2 separate regions of the Homo sapiens genome follow, and region 1 is linked to region 2. Evidence: promoter capture Hi-C in 16 types of primary human blood cells and fetal thymus (Javierre and others, 2016). All regions are on one chromosome and are shown on one strand. The core of a region is centred on a gene start or on the middle of the fragment in contact, and the rest is flanking DNA. Distances in the headings are between cores, read along the strand shown.

What was found. The method cuts DNA at HindIII sites, captures the fragments that hold promoters and counts their contacts. A CHiCAGO score of 5 or more calls a contact.
Region 1: a contact is called between a fragment that was not itself captured here and the fragment with the promoter of DISP1 in region 2, in 2 of 17 cell types (naive CD8 T cells and naive CD4 T cells). The highest score is 5.3, in naive CD8 T cells.

The regions. Positions count from the first base shown.
Region 1 is chr1:223,670,912-223,676,387 of GRCh38, reverse strand. No RefSeq gene overlaps it. Among named protein-coding and RNA genes, the nearest start is that of CAPN8, 7.9 kb to the right of the region's middle. The HindIII fragment of the contact is 207 bases long and covers 4,123-4,329 here.
Region 2 is chr1:222,813,576-222,819,588 of GRCh38, reverse strand. DISP1 (dispatched RND transporter family member 1) reads right to left here and starts at 4,550. Exons shown (of 9, transcript NM_001377229.1): 1 at 4,511-4,550. RefSeq lists silencers at 4,590-4,689, 4,780-4,859 and an enhancer at 5,100-5,159. The HindIII fragment of the contact is 6,781 bases long and covers 1-5,782 here.

The DNA of each region.
Region 1 (5,476 bases), core at 2,977-5,476, 860 kb before region 2:
AATAGTTCACAGAAAGCAAAGAGAAAAGTTACTAAGTTATGGGTTTATCATAAAACGATGCAATTCAGGAACAGCCAGATGGGAGAGATGCACAGGGCAATGACATGTCTTGGCTGTGTCCCTACTCAAATCTCATCTTGAATTGTGACTCCCACAATTCCCACATGTTGTGGGAGGTAACTGAATCATAAGGGTGGGTCTTTCCCATGCTATCCTCTTAATAGTGAATAAGTCTCATGAGATCTGATGGTTTTATAAGGAGGAGTTCCCCTGCACATGTCCTATTCTTGCCTGCCACCATGTAAGATGTTCCTTGCTCTTCTGCCATGATTGTGAGGCCTCCCCAGCCATGTAGAACTATGAGTCCATTAAACCTCTTTCCTTTACAAATTATGCAGTCTCAGATATGCCTTTATTAGCAGCATGAGAACAGACAAATACAGGCAAGGTATGGGGAAAGGGGTGCAGAACTTCCATGCCTTCTCTGGGCACACCACCCTCCCAGCACCTCCATGAGTTCAGCAGCCTGGAAGCTCTCTGAATTCTGTAGCTCAGGGATTTTTTTTTTTTTTTTAGCTGTGACCTTGCCTTTCTCTCTCTTTCTCTCTCTCTCTCTCTCTCTTTCTCTCTCTCTCTCTCTCTCTGTGTGTGTGTGTGTGTGTGTGTGTGTGTGTAGATTTCTTTCTTTATTATTATTTTTTAAACTTTTATTTTAGGTTCAGGGGTATATGTGCAAGTGCTGCGGTTTGGAGTTGTGTCCCCACCCAAATCTCATGTTGAACTGGAATTGCCAGTGTTGGAGGAGGGGCCTGGTGGGAGGTGACTGGATCATAGGAACAGTTTAATGGTTTAGCACCATCCCTCTAGTGCTGTTTTAAAAGTGTGTGGCACCCCTCCTTCCTCTTGCTCCCACTATGTAAGATGTGCTTGCTTCCCCTTTGCCTTCTGCTGTGATTGTAAGTTTCCTGAGGCCTTGACAGAAGCAGAAGCCTATACAGCCTACAGAACTGTGAGACAATGAAACATCCTTTCTTTATACATTACCCAGTTTCAGGTACTTCTTTATAGCAGTGTGAGAATGGACTAATAAAAAAAATTGGTACCAGAGAAGTGGAGCATTGCTATAAAGGTACTTGAAAATGTGGAAATGACTTTGAAACTGGGTAATAGGCAGAGGTTGGAAGAGTTTGGAGGGCTCAGAAGAAGACAGGAAAATGAGGGAAAGTTTGGAGCTTCCTAGAAACTTGTTGAATTGTTGTGGCCAAAATGCTGATAGTGATATGGACAATGAAGTCCAGGCTGAGGAAGTCTCAGATGGAGACCTCTCAGATGGAGCTTATTGGAAACTGGGGTAAGGTTACTCTTCCTATGTGTTAGCAAAGAGACTGGCAGCATTATGCCCCTGCTCTAGACATTTGTGGAACTTGAACTTGAGAGAGATGATTTAGGGTATCTTGAGGGAGAAATTTCTAAGCAGCAAAACATTCAAGATGTGACTTGGCTGCTTGTAAGAACCTACAGTCACATGCATAAGGAAATAAATGATCTAAAACTAGAACTTTTATTTAAAAGGGAAGCAGAGCATAAAAGTTTGGAAAATTTGCAGCCTGGCCATGTGGTAGAGAAAAAAAAAATTTCAGAAGAGGAATTCAAACCAGCTGCAGAAATTTGCGTAAGTAAAGAGGAACTGAATGTTAATAGCTGAGACAATGGGGAAAATGCCTGGAAGGCATTTCAGCAAACTTCATGGCAGCCTCTCCCTTCACAGGCCCAGAGGCCTAGGATAGAAGAATGGTTTTGTGGTCTGGACCCAGAGCCCCACTGCCCTGCACAACCTCGGGACAGTGCTCCCTGTGTCCTGGCGGCTCAAGCTCCAGATATGCCTCAGGCAGCTGCTCCAGAGGGTGCAAGCTGCAAGTATTGGTGGCCTCCACATGGCATTAAGCCTGTGGGTGTGCAGAGGACAAGAGTTAAGGCTTGGGAGTCTCTGCCTAGATTTCAGAAGATGTATGGAAATGGCCGAATGTCTAGGCAGAAGTCTGCTGCAGGAGTGGAGCCCTCATGGAGAACCTCTACTAGGGTAGTGCAGAAGGGAAATGTGGGGTTGAAACCCCCATGCAGAGTTTCCAGTGGGGCACTGCCTAGTGGGGCTGTGAGACGAAGACCACCATCCTCCAGACCCCAGAATGGTAGATCCACCAACAGCTTGCACTGTGCACCTGGAAAAGCCACAGGCACTCAACACCCTTGAGAACAGCCATGGGAGCTGAGCCCTGCAGAGCCACAGGGACAGAACTGCCCAAGGCCTTGGGAGCCCAGCCCTTTCACCAGTGTGGTCTGGATGTGAGACACAGAGTCAAAGGAGATTATTTCAGAGCTTTAAGATTTAATGACTGCCCTGCTGGGTTTTGGACCTGCATAGGGCCTATAGCTCCTTTGCTTTGGCCAATTTTTCCCTTCTGGAAAGGGAGTAATTATCCAATGCCTATACCCCTATTGTATTTTGGAAGTAACTAACTTGTTTTTGATTTTACAGGCTCATGGGTGGAAGGGACTTGTCTTGTCTCAGATGAGACTTTGGACTGGACTTTCGAGTTAATGCTGAAATGAGTTAAAACTTGGGGGACTGTTGAGATGGGATAATTGTATTTTGCAATGTGAGAAGGACACAAAGTTTGGGATAGGCCAGGGACAGAATATGGTTTGGATTTGTGTCTTCGTCCAAATCTCATGTCAATTTGTAATCCCCAGTGTTGGAGAAGGGGCCTGGTGGGAGGTGATCAGATCATGGGGGTGGTTTAATGGTTTAGCACCATCCCCCTAGTGCTATCTTAAAAGTGTGTAGCACCTCCCCTACACTTCCTCCTGCTCCCACCATGTAAGATGTGCTTGCTTCACCTTTGTCTTCCACCACGACTGTAAGTTTTCTGAGGCCTCCTCAGAAGCAGAAGCCTGTATAGCCTGCAGAACCATAAGCCAATTAAACAACTTTTCTTTATAAATTACTCAGTTTTAGGTATTTCTTTATAGCAGTGTGAGAATGGACTAATACAGCAAGTTTGTTATATAGCTAAGCTCCTGTCATAGGGATTTGTTGTACAGATTATTTCATCACCCAAGTACTAAGCCTAGTACCAAATAGTTATTCTTTTTTTGTTCCTCTCCCTCCTCCCACCCTCTACCTGCAAGTAGGCTCCAGTGTCTGTTGTTCCCTTCTTTGTGTTCATGAGTTCTCATCACTTAGCTCCCACTTACAAGTGAGAACATGTGGTATTTGGTATTCTTGCATTAGTTTGCTAAGGACAATAGCCTCTAGCTCCATCCACATTTCAGTAAAAGACATAGTCTTGTTCTTTTTTTGACTGCATAGTATTTCAGGGTGTATATGCACCACGTTTTCTTTATCCAATTTGTAATTGATGGGCATTTTGATTGATTCCATGTCTTTGCTATTGTGAATAGTGCTGCAAGAAACATTTGCTTGCATGTATCTTTATGGCAGAATGATTTATATTCCTTTGGGTATATACCCAGTAATGGGATTGCCAGATATAATGATAGCTCTGTTGTTAGGTCTTTGTAGCTCAGGAATTTTTATGGAGGCTTTATCTCATAGGCATGATGGATTATCAACCTAGTCACCAGCTCCTCTCCCCTGCCTGGAAGATGGGGAGTGGGGCTGAAAGTTCCAAGCCCTCCCTTCCTCCCTCCCTCCCTCCCTCCCTCCCTCCCTCCCTCCCTCCCTCCTTTCTTTCTTTCTTTCTTTCTTTCTTTCTTTCTTTCTTTCTTTCTTTCTTTCTTTCTTTCTTTCTTTCTTGTTTCTGAGACAGGGTCTCTCTCTGTTGCCTAGGCTGGAGTACAGTGGCATGAACATGGCCCGCTACAGCCTCAATCTCCTGGGCCCAAGCAATCCTCTTGCCTTGGTTTCCTGAGTAGCTGGGACTACAGGTGTGTACCACTATGTCCAGCTAGTTTATTATTTTTTATTTTTAGTACAGATATCATCTCACTGTGTTGTCCAGGCTGGCGCTGAACTCCTGGGCTGAAACGATCCTTTTACGTTGGCCTCTCAAAGTTCTGGGATTACAGTTGTGAAGCAACTTGCCTGGCTTTTTCCAAGCTTCTAATCATGGCTTGGTCTTTCTTGTGACTAGCCCCCATTCAGGAGCCCACAAGAGTCACCTTATTAGAACAAAAGACTCTTCTATTCCCAGGAAATTCCAGGGATTTAGGAGCTCTGTCAGGAACTAGAGTCAAAGACCAAATATTACAACAAAAGATGCTCCTAGCACATTTATCACCCAGGAAATTACAAAGATTTTAGAAGCTTTGTGCCAGGAACTGAGGACAAAGACCAAAATACTTATTTCTTATTAAATCACAAGATCACAAGAGGTATCCTGGCTGTGTCTTCCCTTCCTCCACACTCATCCCCAGCCTCTGGGACTCACAGAGGAGGTAAACTTGGGAACTCCTCTCCCTACCTGCCCAGCCCCAGTGCCACTACCTGAATTAAGCCATCATCGATTCTTGCTTGTTTCAGAGCAACTGCACCCTAACTATAGAGAAGAAGTCCACATCCATTTAGGATGGCATTCAAGGCCCCCAGTGTCTTTTCCTCTTGTTGTTTGCCTCCTGCCTCACTCCAGGAGTGAGTGATCTAGAATGATCTCATTCTAGATAATTAATATTCTGTTGGCACTGTGTGCAGAGCTGTTCCTTCTTGCCATTTTCTTGCTGTTCCCCTTGACTCCAATGCCCTTTTTACACTGCCTTCTTTCAAAATCATCATCCTTCAAGCACCTTATCCTACAGATCTAACTGGAAGGCCACCTCTTCCATGAAGCCCTCCTTATCACTCATCATCCTCAGAATCAACCACTCTTTCTTTGAGCATTGCCTGGTCTTTCCACTGCATGGAAGTTCTTTGTGGGCAGGCATGGTGTCTATTTGTCTTTCGATTTTTTCTTTTCTTTTCTTTTTTCTTTTTCTTGAGACAAGGTCTTGCTCTGTCACCTAGGCCAGAGTGCAGTGGCGCGATCTCAGCTCTCTGAAACCTCCACCTCCTGGGTTCAAGCAATTCTTCTGCCTCAGTCTCTTGAGTAGCTGGTATTACAGGTGCCTGCCACCATGCCTGGCTAATTTTTTGAAATTTTTATAGAGATGGGGTTTCACCACGTTGCTCAGGCTGGTCTGGAACTGCTGGGCTCAAGTCATCTGCCTGCCTTGTCCTCCCAAAGTGCTGGGATTGCAGGCCTGAACAAATGCGTCTGGCCTCTATTTGTCCTTTTATCCTCCTACGAGCATTGACCCCTGCCCAGTGGAGTGTTGGCACAGAGACGGCTTGCAGATCTGAGTGAGGCTTGCAGATCTGAGTGAGGCACAGAGATGGCTTGCAGATTGGAGGGCTGAGTGAGTCATTGGATTTCTTCCTTTTAGGCATCACATCTCACAGCCTACTGCCCAGGTCGCATCT
Region 2 (6,013 bases), core at 3,301-5,800:
CAGCCTAGGCAACACAGCGAGACACTGTGTCAAAAAAAAAAAAAAAAAAAGATATGTGTGTGTGTGTGTGTGTATGTATATAACATATTAAAACCACAAAAAAAGAGTAACTTTTAAATGTCAGAGAGTGGAGGGGCCATTAAATTGTCCATTTTCCATTCTTTGACATAATGAAAACCCAGATTTTCACTGTTTTTAAATCCCTTAAAAAGTAACTGGGCTATGAATTTTGATACTTTTATTAGTCCATTCTCACACAGCTATAAAGAACTACCTGAATGGGTAATTTATAAAGAAAAGAGGTTTAATTGGCTCACAATTCCACAGGCTGTACAGGAAGCATAGCTGGGGAAGCCTCAGGAAACTTACAATCATTGCAGAAGGCGAAGAGGAAACCAGTGTGTCCTACATGGCTGGAGCAGGAGAAACGACGAGCACAGGGGCAGGTGGGACACACTTTTAAACAACCAGATTTTGTGAGAACTCTATCATGAGACAACACTAGAGGGATGGTGCTAAACCATTAGAAACCACCTCCATGATCCAATCACCTACCACCAGACTCCACCTCTAACACTGAGAATTACAATTCGACATGAGATTTGGGTGGGGACACAGAGCCAAACCATATCAATATTCTCCTATTGACTATGCAACATTTTACACGCCACATATTAGTTTAATACAGCAAAAGTATTTTAAATGCTGTCATGGTTAGCCTTATGTGTCAACATGGTTAGGTTATAGCACCCAGGTATTTAATCAAACACCAATTTAGGTGTTGCTATAAACATATTTTGTAGATGTAGTTAATGTCTACAATCAGTTGACCTTAAGTAAAGGAGATTACCTTCCGTAATGTTGGTAGGACTCATCTAATCAGCTGAAGGCCTTAAGAGCAAAACCTGAGGTTTCCCAAAGAAGAAAGAATTCTGCCTCAAAACTACAGAATCAACTCCTGCCTAAATTTCCAGCCTGCTGGTCTGACCTACAAATTTTGTACTTGCCAACTCCCACAACTGCATGAGCCAATTTCTTAAAATAAATCTCTTTTAAAAATACACATATATATGTGATATTGGTCTGTTTCTCCGGAGAACCATAATTATACACTAACACAGTGAAAATCAAACTGGTACTATTTTGCTTCAAGAGGCTCCACCAGGTCATTCACACAAGAGGTGGGAGGCTCCACCAGGTCATTCACACAAGAGGTGGGAGGGATTCCCCTCCCAGCCCTCTCCAGGTAACAAAGGAGTGCATCATCTGTGTGGTATTCAAAAACTATAATAACAACTAAAAGTCTTTCTGCTGTATTATCACCAGGAGCTGGCAATTCTAAACCTCAGTGCTAAAATACTCTTTCCAACTATAGCAGACAGCTCCCACCATCAAGACCCCTAGTATGTCACTGGTAGTGGTCAACTTCCCCCACCCCCCCATGCAAATCATTTATCCAATAGTTCTTCTATTCCTTAGGCTCTCAAAATTAAAAACAAAACTAATAATAACAACAAAGGTTAAGGGCAATCAGTGTGTTTTCTACAATATTTGCCATTGTGAGTTATAGCCTATCACTTTAACAGAAAAGTTCATCTACAGTGTAATGTGATGCCTCACTCAAAGCAAAACTGAGTCTATTTATATAATCCAACAAATTATGATTTAGTATTAAAAGTATTTTTAAAACAATAACCTAAACAAGAGGTTCACAGTCATAACTACATGCCTATAGGCTGGAAAATGTGCCAAGATTTATGGGATCAGATTCAGCAGAATGGACAGGGCCCTACTAACAGGACTGCAGTGATTCATCCCCTTTTGAGTCACTCTGAGGCCCAAGTCATCTTGGTCACTATTGGAGAAAAGGTCTAACTCACCAGAGGAAAAGGACAGAAAGTATTACTAAAAGCAGTCAACCCTGTGTGAGTCAACCTCATTAAGGGCCATGCTTTTCATCAGAGGCAGTGCAGCAGCTGGACCTTAAGTTAACAGATCAGCAGTCTTTCGTAGCTCCTCATCCAAAAACTGTACTTCCCCATTGTAACAAATATTCTTGATTCTATCAAGTGGCAGGAAATGGCTTTCTAACTAGAGTATGCCGATAATTGAGAACGTACTATATAATCAGAAAATTGATAACCAAAGGGCATAGAAGCAACGAGCTCAACTTAGCAAATTATTTCGTATTTTACAAACTAGAGATTAAGGAAGACAAATGTATGTGTATATGAAGACAGTGTTTTGGTTATCACTATTTTGATAGTTCTTCCAATACAGACACTGTACATATTTCAGAAATAAAAAGAAATAGTGAATCTATAAAATAGCCAGCAGTTCGCTGTACTTAATCAAAAACTGCCATTATTGGTTAAACTGTAAAATACATCTAAATCCTACGGAATAACAAAAATAATTTATCTAGAGAGAAAGCTAAATTTACTAAACAATTAGAAGAAAGAATACAATTCCAAAGATTTTCCGGAATACAGGGCAATCCAACCTCAACATACCATTCATATATATAGCTAGCCCAACTTGCCCAAGAGGGCAAGTGCTCTTGTGTTTCAACAACGAGCACTTCCTCCAACCATGAACTAATGTCTAAAGACTTGCATGCTTTCTCAAGTGCTTTATTTCTCAAAAACCATGGGAAAAGGCGGAAGAAAAATAAAATCAAGTCTTATCAGATAAACAATATTGTCTACTTAAACAAATAAGATTAAATTGAGACATATACAGAAATTAACATGGCAGTTAATTCAATTACTTTAGAGATCAGTGTTATCTCTTCATTTTGTAATTTGAAAACTTATTCAATATGCTCATTTACATGTTAAGGCACTGTTTATGTTTAGGCCTTGCTTTACACTTGTAAATATCAGCAGTCCTCCTAAACATAAGGACGTTATAACTGTGTATTTCACTCAAGCACAGATATTCAAGGCCATCAAGAATTTATAAGCTAGCAAGATATCGCAGTACCAATAAATATAAAATGTTCTAGTTTTCCTGAATTAGTTCAAGTCAGACCACCAAATCAGATCTAAAAGTTACCTGTACTAATACAGTAATTTTTAAAACAAAAACTTCTAACATTTGAAATGTGAAACACCTGAAACAAGCAAAGCAATCATCAGATCTCACCCTCCATCAGTGACAGTGTTATGATTCTTCCTAGCTACCTTGCTCACTTTGTGGCAAAAATCCAATTCACTTACTACCTACTTAAAAGCTAGGAGAATCTTTGTAATTACACTGAGTGAAACACTATATTATGTAGATTAGGAAGCACATATTAATCACATCCAATAAAACATAAATGCAAGGTAAATAATAACTAAATCAATAATTACCTTTGGTAATAATAATGAGCCCACATACCAAACACTGGCCACTGGGGAAAACTAAATGTGCTAATGTGCGTGTAACAACAGATCTTGGGTTATCAATATTTTTAAAAAACACTGACAATGGCAAATATTTATATATATATATATATATATATATATATATTTCCTTACAGCAGAAATAAAAAGGAACAGTAAAATCTTAAGAACTGCTAGTAATTTGCTGCACCCTGATGTAAAATTGCCTTTATTGGTTAAACTAAAAGACTAAACCCAACAAAATAGCTTTTAGAAAAAATGTGTTAGAAAGTTGGACAGAAAAACAATGAGTTGAAACTGCAAACATTGACAGCACTGGCTTTCCATGTGATTATCACCATAATTCTGAACGCATTTAGTTCATCCCATGACAAGGGAAATAAGACAAGCTAAACTCTGCAGGGTAGAGAAGAGTCCAAAAGGAAAACTTTGGTTGTCTTCCTTGGGTGAAGAGAACTCTCAACTACTATCAGTTTGACAAAGACACGCAGAATCTGGGTGAAGCAAGAATTCGAGCGGTCCCTAGGAATATACAATATTTTCCCGAAATCCACACGCGCGGAGCGGGATATATTTCTAAAAACAAAAAACAAACTGCATGAATTGCAAATGAAGCAATAGGAGTTCAGCATCCAATAGGTGGCTGGTCATCTTTCTGGTTCGTTAGGTCAAGACGTCCTTCTCACCTACGACCCTCAGAGAAGGACTGACTCCCTCCTCTGTAACCTCTCCCTGGAAGCCAACCTTTGCCATCTCCTGCCATCCTCTCAGTCAATCCGCCAGGACCCGGGACACGCCCCCACGAATGACTACTTTCCTCCGAGATGCAACTCTGCCCCGTGTCATCCGCAACCTCCAGTCTCAGGGCCTCTTTGGCCTCAGGGTCCCCGGTGCCTCCCTCCTCAGTCCCTAAAGGCTGCCCTTAGGGCTCTCCTGGTTCCCCGTTCTCAGTCCTGGCCCTTCTCTCAAGCCTGGGGTCCCGGATTTCCCTCCACACGCGCGGGAGATGCCGACTCTCCCGTCCCTACCCGGTCTCCCAGTCCCGCGGCGCCGGGCGGCGGCGCGCCGAAAGGCATCCACTGAGGAAACAAGTGCCTGCAACGTTCCGGCTGCGAACTCACCTCCAGTCCGGGCTCTCGGATGCTGGCCCGGAGCCGGGCTTCCGCCTGGCGCGGTCCGCGTCGCGAGCGGGACCGGAAGTCCCGCCCCTCGCCCGCTCCCGGCCCGCTCCCGGCCCGCTGGCCTCGCTTGACTACCGCTCCCCGGGAGAGGGATCGCCGGCGGCGGGCGACGGGCGGCTGGCAAGGGGCAGAGGGCAGAGGGGCTTGGCTTGAAAGGGCGAGGCAGGCGCCAAAAAAATTCCCTCTCGCGCTCCTGCTCTTTCTAGTGTATCCATCGACCAGTGTGCAAATGCTTGACCAAGCGTCTATTCTGCCCAAGCCCAGTGAGGCACAAGATGACTCAGACACTGACCTCTGTCCTCACAATCTAGTTAAAAGTTGACATAAGTAAAAACAGAAGTAAATCACGCCACAAGACAGTGTTTCTTCTTTCATTATTCAGATTATTATCACCTGCTATATAGGCCTGTGAACAACCAGGCACTGCTGTAGGGGCTGGGGATAGAGCGAACAGAGGACAGCCCCACTCTCGTGAGGCTTACACTCAGGGCGAGGAACTAGCTATAGAATAAATCGAACAGCGGCGGCTCCCTCGGGAGGCTTATGCACAGAAACAAAAATATATAAGCAATGAAACCATCAAGTGTTAGAGGCACTCTGGTGGTGCTGTAGGGAACGGTGCAATGTAGAGAGCTGGGCGGAGAAGGCTTTCTAGAAATAATGACTCTTCAATTGAGACTGAAATAAATGATGAATAAGAGTTAAAGGACAGGCACAGTGGAGAAGGGCATGCAGAGAAGAAGGACGTTATGGAGTGAGAGCTTGGCTTGTACCGGTAGCTGGCCAGGAGTTAAGCAAAGTGTCAGATGGCAGATGCAAGAGCAAGCATAATGAGAAGAGACAAGGCCAAATCATGAAGAACGTTGTGCCCTATGCTTAAAAATTTTGGACTTCAGAGACTCCGTGCAACGGAATCCGTGGGGTCATCTAAGGGAATAGACAAAACAGTGAGTCATGGGGTTGACTAGGGGGATTGTCCTAGTCATCAAAGAAAAATAATACATCATGAATAGCATGTTTTATCCTTGAGGGTGCTTTCTTGAACTGCCATACCCAGATGTAAAGGCAATAGACGGCTACCACAACCCTATAAAGGCAGGACCACAAGGGATCATACCCCTCAGGTTGCTGCATTGAGCAAATCACCCCAACCAACTGAGATGCTAACTGAAGTCACAGGGAACTATGGAATGGGCCCAGAAGAAAGAAGCTTCAACACCAGCTACAGTAATGAGGACTGTTGCATTTTTTGTTTGTTTTCTTTGCTACCAGTGTTTAATAAATACTCTCTTGCACACCAAGCCCTTTCTTTGCCTTTTTAAAAAGGAATGGTATAATACATACATTTTTCTTTTTTTCTCCTTTTGCCAGCAAAAGGCCATACATTGCAATATATGGAGATAGGATTACAGTAGAAGAAAATGAGGAATGGATATCGTGTAG